Linked DNA regions of Homo sapiens: regions 1, 2, 3 and 5 are each linked to region 4. The links are contacts of gene promoters, found by promoter capture Hi-C in blood cells and fetal thymus (Javierre and others, 2016). All regions are on one chromosome and are shown on one strand. The core of a region is centred on a gene start or on the middle of the fragment in contact, and the rest is flanking DNA. Distances in the headings are between cores, read along the strand shown. Region 1 overlaps NEK11 (NIMA related kinase 11). Region 2 overlaps NEK11 (NIMA related kinase 11). Region 3 overlaps ATP2C1 (ATPase secretory pathway Ca2+ transporting 1). Region 4 holds the start of MRPL3 (mitochondrial ribosomal protein L3). Region 5 overlaps NEK11 (NIMA related kinase 11).

The links. Contacts are between HindIII fragments. The CHiCAGO score rates a contact against its expected background, and 5 or more counts as called.
Region 1: a contact is called between a fragment that was not itself captured here and the fragment with the promoter of MRPL3 in region 4, in 7 of 17 cell types (total CD8 T cells, naive CD8 T cells, M0 macrophages and 4 more). The highest score is 7.1, in total CD8 T cells.
Region 2: a contact is called between a fragment that was not itself captured here and the fragment with the promoter of MRPL3 in region 4, in 11 of 17 cell types (total CD8 T cells, naive CD4 T cells, total CD4 T cells and 8 more). The highest score is 16.8, in total CD8 T cells.
Region 3: a contact is called between a fragment that was not itself captured here and the fragment with the promoter of MRPL3 in region 4, in 4 of 17 cell types (non-activated CD4 T cells, total CD8 T cells, total CD4 T cells and 1 more). The highest score is 6.5, in non-activated CD4 T cells.
Region 5: a fragment that was not itself captured here is called in contact with the fragment with the promoter of MRPL3 in region 4 in 1 of 17 cell types (neutrophils); the score reaches 5.1 in neutrophils.

Annotation. Positions count from the first base shown.
Region 1 is chr3:131,062,524-131,065,241 of GRCh38, reverse strand. The region is part of intron 3 of NEK11 (NIMA related kinase 11); the gene reads right to left. Among named protein-coding and RNA genes, the nearest start is that of NEK11, 37 kb to the right of the region's middle. The HindIII fragment of the contact is 6,804 bases long and covers 1-2,718 here.
Region 2 is chr3:131,041,385-131,044,084 of GRCh38, reverse strand. The region is part of intron 3 of NEK11 (NIMA related kinase 11); the gene reads right to left. Among named protein-coding and RNA genes, the nearest start is that of NEK11, 16 kb to the right of the region's middle. RefSeq lists an enhancer at 800-1,610. The HindIII fragment of the contact is 2,555 bases long and covers 71-2,625 here.
Region 3 is chr3:130,992,547-130,995,246 of GRCh38, reverse strand. It overlaps ATP2C1 (ATPase secretory pathway Ca2+ transporting 1), which reads right to left. Exons shown (of 28, transcript NM_001378687.1): 21 at 2,246-2,296; 22 at 1,149-1,315. Among named protein-coding and RNA genes, the nearest start is that of ASTE1, 33 kb to the left of the region's middle. The HindIII fragment of the contact is 344 bases long and covers 1,146-1,489 here.
Region 4 is chr3:131,501,721-131,504,420 of GRCh38, reverse strand. It overlaps MRPL3 (mitochondrial ribosomal protein L3), which reads left to right and starts at 1,450. Exons shown (of 10, transcript NM_007208.4): 1 at 1,450-1,691. The coding sequence starts at 1,600. LOC105374114 (a long non-coding RNA gene) reads right to left here and starts at 1,822. Exons shown (of 3, transcript NR_189111.1): 1 at 1,717-1,822. RefSeq lists enhancers at 1,552-1,621, 1,128-1,814. The HindIII fragment of the contact is 1,488 bases long and covers 663-2,150 here.
Region 5 is chr3:131,225,660-131,228,359 of GRCh38, reverse strand. All of the region lies in intron 14 of NEK11 (NIMA related kinase 11), which reads right to left. Among named protein-coding and RNA genes, the nearest start is that of NUDT16-DT, 150 kb to the left of the region's middle. The HindIII fragment of the contact is 2,820 bases long and covers 1-2,700 here.

The DNA of each region.
Region 1 (2,718 bases), core at 70-2,569, 440 kb after region 4:
CAGATAAGAAAACTGAGACTGGTAGTTTAGGTAATTGTCCAAAGTAAGTGGAAAGACTGAGATATAAATGCAGGAGGTCTGACTTTAAGACCAAAGCTCTTTCTACTCATTGTTAATGTAATCTTTATCCAGCATTTAAATTTTAATAATAACAAGAGAAAGCAGACTAGCAAGGGCATGATAACTGTGTTGTAAAGTTCCTTCCTTGTACATGCCAGGGTTTTCATGCCTTTGTGCCTTCACTTATGCTATTCCGCTGTCTGGGACACACTGTCTCTACCCTTTCTCTGCCAGATTTATATTCATTCTGTAAGTTTGGCTCCAACGTTCACTCTTCCAGAATGTCTTCTCTACTCTATAAAAATAGAATAAGCACATCTCCATCTAGCATGCCCTGCAAGGGGTTGAAAATGCCTATTTACATTCTTGTTTGCCTGACTGGTCCATAAGCTCTTTGAAGGCAAGAGCTATGTCCAGTTTAGTTTTTATTTTTTGTTACTAACAGTTTTATTGAGACATAATTCATGTACCATTAAATTCACTCTTTTCAAGTGTACAATTCAGTAGCTTTTAGTATATCCCCAGAGGTCTGCAACCATCAACACTGTCTAATTTTAGAACCCTTTATTATCCTTATTATGGATTGAATTGTGTCCCCCTAAAATTCATATGTTGGTCTCAACCCCCAGTGCCTCAGAATGTAACTGTATTTGGAGATAAGGTCTTGAAAGAGTCGATTAAGTTAAAATGAGGCCAGCAGAGTGGGCCCTAATCCTATATAAGTGTTGTTCTTATAAGGAGAGGGAGAGACCAGGGACACGCTTGCACAAACACAGAAAGGCCATGTGAAAACAGAGCAAGGAGGTGGCCATCTACAAGCCAAGGAGAGCAGCCTCAGAAAAAAATCACCCTGCTGGCACCTTATTCTTGGACTTTCGGCCTCCAGAACATGAGAAAATAAATTTCTGTTATTCAAACCACCTAGTCTGTGGCATTTCATTATGGCAGCCCTGGAAAACTAACACAGTCCCCAAAGAAATCCCTTATCCATCAGCAATCACTACCCATTCCCACTCTCCATAGCCCCTGGCAACCACTTTTCTTTCTGTGGGTTTGCCTGCTTGATATTTCATATAAGTTGAATCATAGAATATGTAGTCTTTTGTGACTGTCTTCTTCCACTTAGCATATTGTTTTCAAGGTTTATCCAGACTGTAGCATGTATCAGTATTTCATGGCTTCTCATGGCTAAATAATATTCTATTGTATGGATATACCATATTTTGTTTATCCATTTATCAGTTGATGGACACTTGGGTTGTTTCTACCTTTTGGTTATTATGAATAATGCTGCTGTAAACATTTGTGTACAAGGTTTTGAGTGGATATATGTTTTTATGTCTTTTGGGTATGTACCTAGGAATGGAATTGCTAGGTCATACGGGTAATTTTACACTTGTAGTAAATTTCCTGGCTGGTGAGTTACTCTATGATTTCCTCAAGCTCAAGGATAATCATTTTTCAAATACTACTTTTATGTCACTCTCTTGCTAAAGATCTTCTCTTGTATTCCCCATCAGACAAAACTTATTAAGCCTCCAGTTCAAGGTATTCTATCAACTGGACCCTATCTATCGGGACTGTATTAATCATTATTCCCAAACCTGACCCATCCACCTCCTCTATTCATGATCCTATCTCTGTATCCTTTTTCTTGCTTCTGTTTCCCACTCTGTCCCCTTCCTTTCTACTACATCTGAGAAAAAGGACAGTTGCCCTCCAAGAGTTGTCTTGTATTCAAGACTCAGAATTCAGGGCATAGAGAAGATGGTCCTGGAATGAAAAATACTCTGCTGAATTATCTTAATTAACCACAGAGTAAGGGGCTTGGGTTAGATGACGTAAAAGCTCCATTCAGGCTAGATGCAGTGGCTCACAACTGTAATCCTAGCACTTTGTGAGGCCAAGGCAGAAGAATTGCTTAAGTCCAGGAGCTTCAGACCAGCCTGGGCAACATAGTGAGACCCCCTCTCTATAAAAAGTAAAAAAATTAGCTGGGCGTGGTGGCATGTGGCTGTAGTCCCAGCTACTTGGGAGGCTGAGGCAGGAGGACTGCCTAACCCTAGGAGTTTGAGGCTGCAGTGAGCAGTGATTGTGCCACTGCACTCTAGCCTGGGCATCAGCGCAAAAGTCTGTCTCTTAAAATAACAAAAATAATAATTTTTTAAAACTTCATTCATACCTAAGATTCTCTGATTCTGTTGAGAGATTATCTTCATCAGCTGGGCCAACACTGCCCTGAGATCCCTTTACTTCCATTTCTCTTGCCTAGCTTTATGTAGTTGATTACAGTGAATGCCTGAGTCTCCTACTACAGCATTAGTGGGGATCGGTTGGAGCCTGGAACTGGCCAGAATAGAGGAGATGATGTGGTGGTTCCTTTCCTCCTTGACAGTCAGAGCTGTGGAGTCACATCTCTACTAGCACCACGACTTGTTTAATCAGGCTGTGGTGCTAAATCTCTAAAACACAATGCTGAGTGAAGGAAGCCAGACGAAAACAGTCCATACCACATGGTTCTGTTTATTCAAAACGCTAGAAAAGACTTACCTATAGTCACAGAAGCATATCAGTATTTGCCTGGGTTTGGGGTGGAGGAAGATTAGAAGGAGCACAAGATAACTTTTTAAGGGTGTAGGAATGTTCTATATTTTATTT
Region 2 (2,700 bases), core at 99-2,598, 460 kb after region 4:
TCTTGTAAGGCAAAATCCTCAGTATTTGCTTGTCTGTAAAGGGTTTCATTTCTCCTTCATTTTTGAAGCTTAGTTTGGCTGGATATGGAATTCTGGGTTGAAAATTCTTTCCTTTAAGAATGTTGAATATTGGCCCCCACTCTCTTCTGGCATGTAGGGTTTCTGCAGAGAGGTCTGTTGTTAGTCTGATAGGCTTCCCTTTGTGGGTAAACCAACCTTTCTCTCTGGCTGCCCTTCACATTTTTTCCTTCATTTCAACCTTGGTGAATCTGACGATTATGTGTCTTGGGGTTGGTCTTCTTGAGGAGTATCTTTGCAGTGTTCTCTGTATTTCCTGAATTTGAATGTTGGCCTGTCTTGCTAGGTTGGGGAAGTTCTCCCGGATAATATCCTGATGAGTGTTTTCCAACTTGGTTCCATTCTCCCCGTCCCTTACAGGTACACCAATCAAATGTAGATTTGGTCTGTTCACATAGTCCCATATTTCTTGAAGTCTTTGTTCATTACTTTTCATTCTTTTTTCTCTAATCTTGTCTTCACACTTGATTTCATTAAGTTGATCTTCAATCACTGATATACTTTCTTCCACTTGATTGATTTGACTATTGATACTTGTGTATGCTTCCTTCATGAAGTTCTTGTGCTGTTTTTCAGCTCCATCACATCATTTGTGTTCTTATCTAAACCGGTTATTCTAGTTAGCAACTCCTCTAATTTTTATCAAGGTTCCTAACTTCTTTGCATTGGGTTAGAACACGCTCCTTTAGCTCGGAGGAGTTCATTATTATCCACCTTCTGAAGCATACTTCTGTCAATTTGTCAAACTCATTCTCCATCCAGTTTTGTTCTCTTGCTGGCGAGGAGTTGTGATCCTTTGGAGAAGTGGCATTCTGGTTTTTGGAATTTTCAGCCTTTTTGCGCTGGTTTTTCCTCATCTTCGTGGATTTACCTACCTTTGTTCTTTGCTGTTGGTGACCTTTGGATGAAGTTTTTGCGTGGTCATCCTTTTTGTTGATGTTGATGCTATTGCTTTCTGTTTGTTAGTTTTCCTTCTAACAGTCAGGCCCCTCTTCTGCAGGTCTGCTGGTATTTTCTGGGGGTCCACTCCAAACCCCGTTTGCCTGGGTATCACCAGCAGAGGCTGCAGAACAGCAAAGATTGCTGCCTGTTCCTTCCTCTGGAAGCCTCATCCCAGAGTGGCACCTGCCAGATGCCAGCCAGAGCTCTCCCGTGTGAGGTACCTGTCGACCCCTGCTGGAAGGTGTCTCCCCATCAGGAGGCACGGGGGTCAGGGACCCACTTGTGGAGGCAGTCTGTCCCTTAGCAGAGCTCGAGTGCTGTGCTGGGAAATCTGCTGCTCTCTTCAGAGTCAGCAGGCAGGAACGTTTAAGTCTGCTGAAGCTGTACCCACAGCCGCCCCTTCCCCCAGGTGCTCTGTCCCAGGGAGATGGGAGTTTTATCTATAAGCCCCTAACTGAGGCTGCTGCCTTTCTTTCAGAGATGCCCTGCCAGAGAGGAGGAATCTAGAGAGACAGTCTGGCTACAGCGGCTTTGTGGCACTGCAGTAGGCTCCACCCAGTTTGAACTTCCTGGCAGCTTTGTTTATACTGTGAAGGGAAAACCACCTACTCAAGCCTCAGTAATGGTGAACACCCCTCCCCCCACCAAGCAACAGCATCCCAGGTCGACCTCAGACTGCCATGCTGGCTGTGAGAATTTCAAGCCAGTGGATCTTAGCTTGCTGGGTTCCATGGGAATGGGATCCGCTGAGCAAGACCTCTTGGCTCCCTGGCTTCAGCCCCCTTTCCAGGGGAGTGAACAGTTCTGTCTCGCTGGCATTCCAGGCACCACTGGGATACAGGGAAAAAAAAAACAAAAAACAAAAACCTGCAGCTAGCTGGGTGTCTGCCCAAACGGTTGCCCAGTTTTGTGCTTGAAACCCAGGGCGCTTGTGGTGTAGGCCCCTGATGGAATCTCCTGGTCTGTGAAGACTGTGGGAAAGGTATAGTGGCTGAGCTGGAATGCACTGTTCCTCATGGCACAGTCCCTCACAGCTTCCCTTCGCTAGGGGAGGGAGCTCCCCAACCCCTTGCACTTCCGGGGTGAGGTGACGCCCCACCCTCCTTCTGCTCGCCCTCCGTGGGCTGTACCCACATCTAACCAGTCCCAATGAGATGAACCAGGTACCTCAGTTGGAAATGCAGAAATCACCCACCTTCTGCATTGATCTCGCTGGGAGCTGCAGACCAGAGCTGTTCTTATTCGGCCATCTTGCCCTGGAATCGCCTTTTGAATTTTTATAAAGTAGAAGTCTCCACTGAGTACTTCCAAGTACTCAATACTGAGTTCATGTCCAAGTATAGTTATGAAATATTGAGCCCTTGCCTCTTCATCCATCAGAACGGGATATTATTACCAGCTGAACACAACTTTTGCTGCTGAAACTAGTGTTGAACTAAAAAACTGTCCAATTAAAAAATGCATACACATATACACACCTTAAACACACACATACACACACACATATATATACGTGAGTATATATTTACGTATGTATACACATACACACACACACACAGAGTTTTTATGGTTATGTGAGCTAGCAAAATAATGCCAAAATAAGCTTTATCTGTGGGAAATTATCTACTGTTGTCAGTTTTCAAAACCTTTTGAATATGTACTTACTCCCTGCAAGTTCAA
Region 3 (2,700 bases), core at 68-2,567, 510 kb after region 4:
GAGATGGGTTTTGACATGTTGCCTAGGCTGGTTTCGAACTCCTGGGCTCAAGTGATCCATCCACCTCAGCCTCCCAAAGTGCTGGCATTACAGGCATGAGGTACCCTGCCCAGCCATGATTATCTTCTTCACCTTCCTCTAAGCTCATTTTTCTTAGTGGTACAAAATGCAGAGTAAAGGTTTAAACTAATGCATGTCAGGAATCAAATGGCAATGAGATATATAGGAATTATAGAATTTAAGCTACGTGTTGCTCCTGCACATCAAGTAGATCACATGTTGCAGAGGAATTAAATGAAGAACATGGTTTACAAGGATTCATATAAATTATCTCATTCATTTAGCTGAATCCAGGAAAATCTATGCTTTTTAATCAACTCCCCATTTCTTCTAAGATTTCTATATAATTATAATAATGGAAAGAAAAAACTCATATCCTTGCAAAAGCTTGGCAAATACTGTGAGTCCTAAGCTCCCAAATGTTTCCCTGTAGGCCAAAACAGAGTAATAAAGCAGCCTGGAACATATAATTGGAATTTATCACTAAACTCAGGTCATCCAACAGGTAGCTACCAAAAAAATAAATAAATAAATAAATGGGATTCACATGATCCCCACCTGAACACTGTGAAACTGACACCACCATGTATTACACTGGAGTCTTAAATCAACTGGAAACTGTGGCTGACACAAATAGAGCTATTTAAATTTAATAAATTATAACATTAAATGAGGGCAAGATGAATAAATTACTGATATAAAAAACAGGTATGGATGTAAACTTCATAATTTTCAATATTTATTATAAAGCCAAAAAAAGAGCCATACATATGCATATTTCTAACTACCTGAATTTAACTAAAATAAAGGCCATTACTATACCATCATATTAGTGCCCAGAAAAAGGTGAAATGTGGCTGGCACTTGGCAAATACTTCTTAAATGAGGGTCCTGCCATTTACTATGCCTGTTCCAGCCACACAAATCATCTTCTTCATACCATAAAATAGGATAATTACCCTAGAAAAGTGGTTTAGTTTACCTAATGTTTAAATACTAATTCTTTTCCAGTTGAATTCTCTAGGGGTGGGGGACAGGAAAGGATAGGGGAAGATTCTCTGATAGGCATTCACTGAAACAAAGCTTACATTATGGTTTGAAAATCATCATCCACTAGGATCATGTCTGCTGCCTCTTTGCAAACATCTGTACCAGTCTGGCCCATCGCAACTCCAATGTCTGCAGCCTTCAGAGCAACTGCATCATTTACTCCATCTCCTGTCATGGCTACAACTGAACCGTTCTTCTGTAGCGACTAGAGTGGAGCAGAGGACAGGGGAGAGGAAGGAATTTTGATAAAAATGTTGCTTCCATACAAAGCGATAAACAAATCCTCCCTATTTTTTTCACATAATTAAGATTAGAAATAATATAGACCACCCATTGTTCAATGAACTTCAACAAATGGAGATCTCAGTAAGATAAAGCTTAGAAAAAGTTGCTACTAATATTCCCATCTGTGAGAACTGTATCTCTAAATTCTGTTCTTCAAACAACTATACAATGATTCTCAACCAGGGGCAATTGTGTCTCCCAAGGGACATCTGACAATGTGTGGAGATGTTTTGGACTATCAGGATTTGGGGGATGTTACTGGCACCTAGTGGGAAGGGGCCAAGAATGCTGCTAAACATTCAATAACATATGGGGCAGCCCTTCACAACAAGGAATTATCCAGTCCAAAATGTCAATGGTGCCAAGGTTGAGAAACTCTGAACTACACAATGGCTGGCTATCATAACTTAAGACCATTAACTACTGGATACTCTATCAGTTGGTTTAAATACATTTGACTAATTAATATAAATAATCATAGCCTTTTAAGCACTGTTCACACTGTCACAACACTATTTCCTTGCTGTATTTATTTAGTTTCTAACTAATTACTGCTATTTACGCTGGGATGACTCGGCTATGGACCCCAGTTAGAACATTGTTTTATACTGTCTAACTGTTTAAAGAAGGCTGTATTTGCAGATACTTCATTCAAGTTTTCTTCTACATCTTATGCCAACTAAATTCTCTATTAGTGTTTCTATGTCAAGCTCTTACAAAAAAAAAAAACTGTTTTGCTTCACAGTATTTCTGACCTTGATGCTCTACTCCCTGTAATGCAAACATAACAAAAGTAAAGTAGCAGCATTTTGTATACAGAAATAAAACAATCTGATTCTTACACACTCACCTTAATAATTTTCATCTTGTGCCTTGGGCTAGCTCTGTAAAATACTGCAACCTGTTAAAATACAAGATACACTAAAAATCTTCAATATTAAGATTTCTACAGAATAACCCATGCATTCATAACTAATGATGAAAAACTCATCAATTTAAGCTGTATTTAATTTGCCACTGAGATCAAGCTTAAGCAATATGACATATGTTTGTTAAGACATTAATCTGACATGGTCATTTCAATCTTTACCAAAGGTACCACAGGAAATACACAATCTAAACAAGTCATCCAATTTATATCATTATGTGTAAACTCTGGAAAGAAAACAGCCTTATTCTTGAAATGTTCCAGAGACAAAAAAAGGAAAAATTCTCTTGCGTCTGTTTCCTATGACACTCGCATACAACTAAAATAGCCTTTTCCCTTTGTTCTGTCTTCAGGAGCAATAAAGAACAGCTGCTTCT
Region 4 (2,700 bases), core at 201-2,700:
CTCAGACATATGCTGTCTTTTGCTGCATCAAGCTAATTAAACTTGACTTTGTATGAGTTCACGTTTTCTTCTAGTAGCCTTGGCTTATGGGCTTCCACAATGCTGAGCACATACTCTAGCACACTATATGGATAAGAAATGTTAGTTATTGGCAGTAGTACAGAAATCTTCTTATTCTCAACTTCTTGCATGTAGCACACCTCAAAACATGTTTGTTCAATGAAGAGCCATCCTTAAGTATCTGGGAAGCCAGGCAGCATGGCTAGAATGAAGAGATGTAGTTTTTCCTTCAAGGTCCAAAGTATTATTGAAAAGTGTCTAAGGTAACTGCAACAGCAATGAGTGGAATGAATGGACAAGCAAAGCAAAGATTTTTTAGCCCACTAAAGTCCAAGTAATGGCCAGGAATTGACCATTGTCTGGACCTGTTAAACCAAGATAGCCAGATCTCTAGTAAAAAGAGAAGGTTGAAATAGCTACACTTTAAAGTTCTTATTTCCAAATTTCTACAAACAGTAATCTGACAAATAAGGGAATTAGTAGAAGAATAAATGTCCTAGTCACATACATGGTTATTAGGCTAGATCTGGAACCCAAGACAGGGGATTTTTTGTGCAGGTGTATTAGCTATCTATTATTGCATAACAAATTACCCTAAAGCTTAATGACTCAAAAAAACGGTAATCATTTATTTTCTCTGGCAATTTCTCCTAGTCAGTAATTCATGAGCGGCCTGGCTGGGAGATTCAGGCTTAACGTCTCCATGAGTTGCAGCCGAGGACTGGTGGATCCACTTCCTAGGTGGCTCAGTCATGACTGGCTAGTTGATTCCTCTTTATATGTTCCTCCCTGCAGAGCTGTTTGAGTGTCTGCAGGAAATGAAGGCTAGCTTTCTCCACAGGGAGCAATCCAAGAGACAAAAACTGAAGTAACAATATGTTTTATGATCCAGCCCTAGAAGGCATACATCATTTCTATGGGTGTAGTCTATTGATAACACATGCCAACCCTGTTTCAGTGCCAACTCTGCTCCTCTGCCAGATGTGTTGTTTTGGACCAGCACCTAAATTCTGAGTCAGTTTCCTCATTTATAATAGAAAAATAAATACTTCCTTTCAGGACCGTTTTTTATGATTAACAAATATAGGATTATGAAGCGCTGCTTAGCATAATGCATTGCCTCACAACGGGCACTATTTAGAAGTGTCTTCATTTTCCTTAGCGTCCTCAGGAAGTCTGTCCTTATTCTTCTAAAGTTTAAACTCTGAACATCCCTTTTATTTTACCCCTGGAGAGGCGAGTCAGTCCCTTCCCACCCCTACCTACTCCAACTCACATCCAAAGTAGGACAACGGTGGAAGCAGAACTATAGTTTCCGGGGAGCGACTCGAGTGCCCGGAGTTCATTGTAAAACGCACCGGAAGTGGGTCCGGCGGCTTTCTTTCCGTCGCAGAGAGCATCGGCCGGCGACCGTTCCGGCGGCCATTGCGAAAACTTCCCCACGGCTACTGCGTCCACGTGGCGGTGGCGTGGGGACTCCCTGAAAGCAGAGCGGCAGGGCGCCCGGAAGTCGTGAGTCGAGTCTTCCCGGGCTAATCCATGCCGGGTTGGAGGCTGCTGACGCAGGTCGGCGCCCAGGTGCTGGGTCGACTCGGGGACGGCCTGGGTGCTGCCCTGGGCCCGGGGAACAGGTAGGAAGGTGTGAGGGTGTCCTACCTGCACAGTTGCGTCCTGAAGCAGTGGAATGGCCTGGTGCAGTTGGGCCTCCCCTGGGTGGAGGAGGAAGGGGCTCTGTTGAGACGTGGGACACAGAAGAATAAGGGCCGTTAACCTAAGGAAGCACGTTCTAAGGGGATTGAAGTGGTGATTTTTAAAAAACGCTTATGAGCCAGCCACTAGCAGCGAACGCTATTAACAGCAATCATATCTTACAATTAGTGAGCGTTTGCCAGGTACTAAGCGCTCTGCTAAGTGTATTAGGTGCCTTATGTAGCCTCACGGGAGCAAACTGCTATCATAAGGTTTACAGATAAAACTGAAGGTTAGGGAGGTGAGTTAATTTGCCCAAAGTCACTCAACTAATAAGTGGAAAATTAGGAATCTAGCCTGAATTTATCTGACTACAAAAGGAGAGTAGACTGCAGAAAGCTTTACTTCTGTTCTGACCCTCCATGCAAGAATTACACCCCTTCTTCCTGACCTCCGCCCACTAAGGTCTTTCTTGGTATGTTCACCTGTTCAGAGGTCATGCCTTTTGTGGATCTTTTAACTTTGCACACCCAGTTTCTTCACTTCTCTGAACCTAGGCCATGTCATTGCAGGGAGGAGGTGAGCTTGTTAGACAAAGATCAACATGCCACCTTCTGCCACCTCCACTGAATGTAAAACTATTAAGGTACACTTCCAAATGGGTTAGTGGCTTTTCATGTCTATAGGTAGGACTGTTTTTTGGGGAATATGTTTATCTGCGAGGAGAAGATGAATTTTTTTCTCCAGGGTAACGACTAACAGTTTAAATGTGAGCCTTATCCGAAGGAATGTGGGGAGTGAGGAAAAGGTTGGAGACCTGAAAAAAAGGTATACAGAATCCAAGCCCTTTCCCAAGGCCCTGACTACACTTTCCAATTTGTGACTTCCCTTTTCTATATTAAGTGGAGGAAGTTTTTAAATTGTGGTTTGGTTTTATTTATTTTTTCTTTT
Region 5 (2,700 bases), core at 102-2,601, 280 kb after region 4:
CACTCAGCAAAATAAAACCAGTAGAGGAAAGGAGGAACATTTCCATTAGCAACTACCGTTTGAAGGTAAGAAAAAAATCATTAAATAAGAATAAATAATATGCTTTAACATTTTGACATTTGGAGGCATGAATCCTTATTAAAAATGAGGAAATTTAGGGGCAAAGGTAGGACAAGATGTCCTGGCTGAAGGGTCCTATTACACAACACACATAAAGTTTTTAGCATAGGAAGTTGGAGCAAAACTACCACAGCATTTTTCCTAGATATTTCTTTTTTTTTAAATGTTACTGGTAGGACCAAACAAGATGAATAGGATATATAGCAGCATCATTTTGGCAAGCTGGGAAAAACACAATTCTTTTCTAACAGGTAATGATGGCTTTTGAGATGGAGTTCACTCTGGTGGGTCCTACTTACTCAACCTTACATTCAGCACTTATTTTAAAAAAGAATACCCACCTAAGCTGATGACAATAAGCATCTACCCAAGTTACTTGATGCAACATTGTTAGTAACTAGAATAAAGTTGGTGTTTATAACAATCTTCAGTGAAGAAAGGCCATGAATGGATCACAAGAAAGCATAACAATATAATTTACTAATGGGGGGCTAGAAATAAAGAACTACCCAAACAACTACCCTTGGGCTGGGGGAGGAGAAAATTAGAATACTCAGCTGCAGCAAAACAATGGGCATTTTAGACTTTGCACCATACTCAGACTTAAAATTAAAATTTTTCTTCCAAATTGTAACACATTATTTTTCAATCTATTGTTGCTATTTCTGGTCTAGTGGGAAAAATATGAAATTTGGGGTCAGAAAATCAAGGCTAGAATCTAGCTCTTCCACTTTTTAGATGAAAATTTGTGCAAGAGACTTAAACTCACAGAGCTCCAATTTCTGTGATAAAATTAACATAAGTGTAATCTAGTAGAGTGGCTGCTGAGATTGAGTAATAGAATTCTCATGAAAGCATCGGTATGCAGGGAAGTTTCATACAAATGTTCACTCAATTTCCAAGTCTGTACAAATGGGCTTTTCATTAAATGAGTCCAGAATCCTTTGAAAGTAAGATACTTAATGGATGTAGAATTCCCTGGAAATAGAAGATGTTAAAATGTGTTTGTTATCTATGGTTTCCCACTAAAACATAAAAGGCTGCTGTACAGTAGAATAAAAATTAGTCAGCTCAAAAGACAAAAATTACATATATTCAAAATTGCCTTTGCCAGTTCCTTAGAAAGCAGTGTACTAGGGATCTCATACCTTCTCTCAGCAATTTCAACACAGCGTATTTTTTTTTTTCACATCAGTTCAGATCACTGATTTTCAGCTGAGCAACAGATGAGATAGAATACTGTTATGGAGAAGCCATAGTTTTTATTATTTTTATTATTTATATTGAAATAATATATATTATTTTTATTAAACGTGGCTTCTAGTCATTATATCAAGAAGACACCTGCACGTGTCTGTATGTACACATATATATATAACATACCTATACACATATGTACATGCATATAGAACTTCAATACCTTTTGCATACAAGTGGTTTTTGGTTACATGGGTGACTTTTGTAGTGGTGAAGTCTGAGATTTTAGTGCACCCTCACCGAGTAGTATACACTGTACCCAATATGTAGTCTTTTATCCCTTACCTCCCTCCCACCCTCCTCCCTTCTGAGTCTCCAAAGTCCATTATCCCACTCTGCATGCCTCTGTGTACCCATAGCTTAGCTCCCACTTATAAGTGAGAACATATGGTATTTGGTTTTCCATTCCTGAGTTACTTCACTTAGAATAATGGCCTCCAGCTCCATCCAGGTTGCTGCAAAAGACAGTATTTCATTCTTTTTTTAATGGCTGAGTAGTATTGCATGGTGTATATATGCCACATTTTCTTTATCCACTCATCAGTGATGGGCAGTTATGTTGGTTCCATATCCTTGCAATTGTGAATTGTGTTGTGATAAACATAAACGTGCAGGTGTCTTTTTGCTGTAATGACTAGAAGCCATGTTAATAAAGATCTTCATTTTACTTACACTGAGAACGACAAGAGAATCACAGCATGAGAAGTGTATGAAAACTAAAATCTCCTGAGAGATCTCCAGTTCTGCCATCAAGTAGGGACATGTGCTTGCTGAGTGGAATGAAAGACAGAACCATATGATGTCTTCCTTCTCTTGCCCACCCTCAACTCTCCCTGAATCTCTGTGTCTCTTTCTCTGAGTTGTCCATTCTCCCTCTTTCCCCACTCTTTTCTACTTCCTCTCCCTCTCGAGTCTCTTTGTCCCTTTGACAGTTATTCATTCTCTCACTCATTCATATTTTTCCCTCTTGCTCTCCCATTTTTTCTTTATCTTCATTCCTCCTTGTCCACTCCCTTGGCTTTCAAACTACGACATGGTAAGAAATATCATTTACATTGTTGCCCAGTGCACAGAAATGTGCTTATATATGTATGTTTATAAATATCTTTATAGTCGAAACAAAAGTTTCATACACCAAGACCTATTTACCCAAACTACATATGACACACTCTGGTGTTTTTCATCCTGTTCAATTATTTTTTTAATGCTGGTTGCAACTCACTAAACTGACCTCTCAACCTGCAGTTTGAAAAACACCCCAACCTAGCTAGAGAGGCCAACATTCAGAAACACTCCTTTAGAATGCTGGCTTTGGCATAAAAA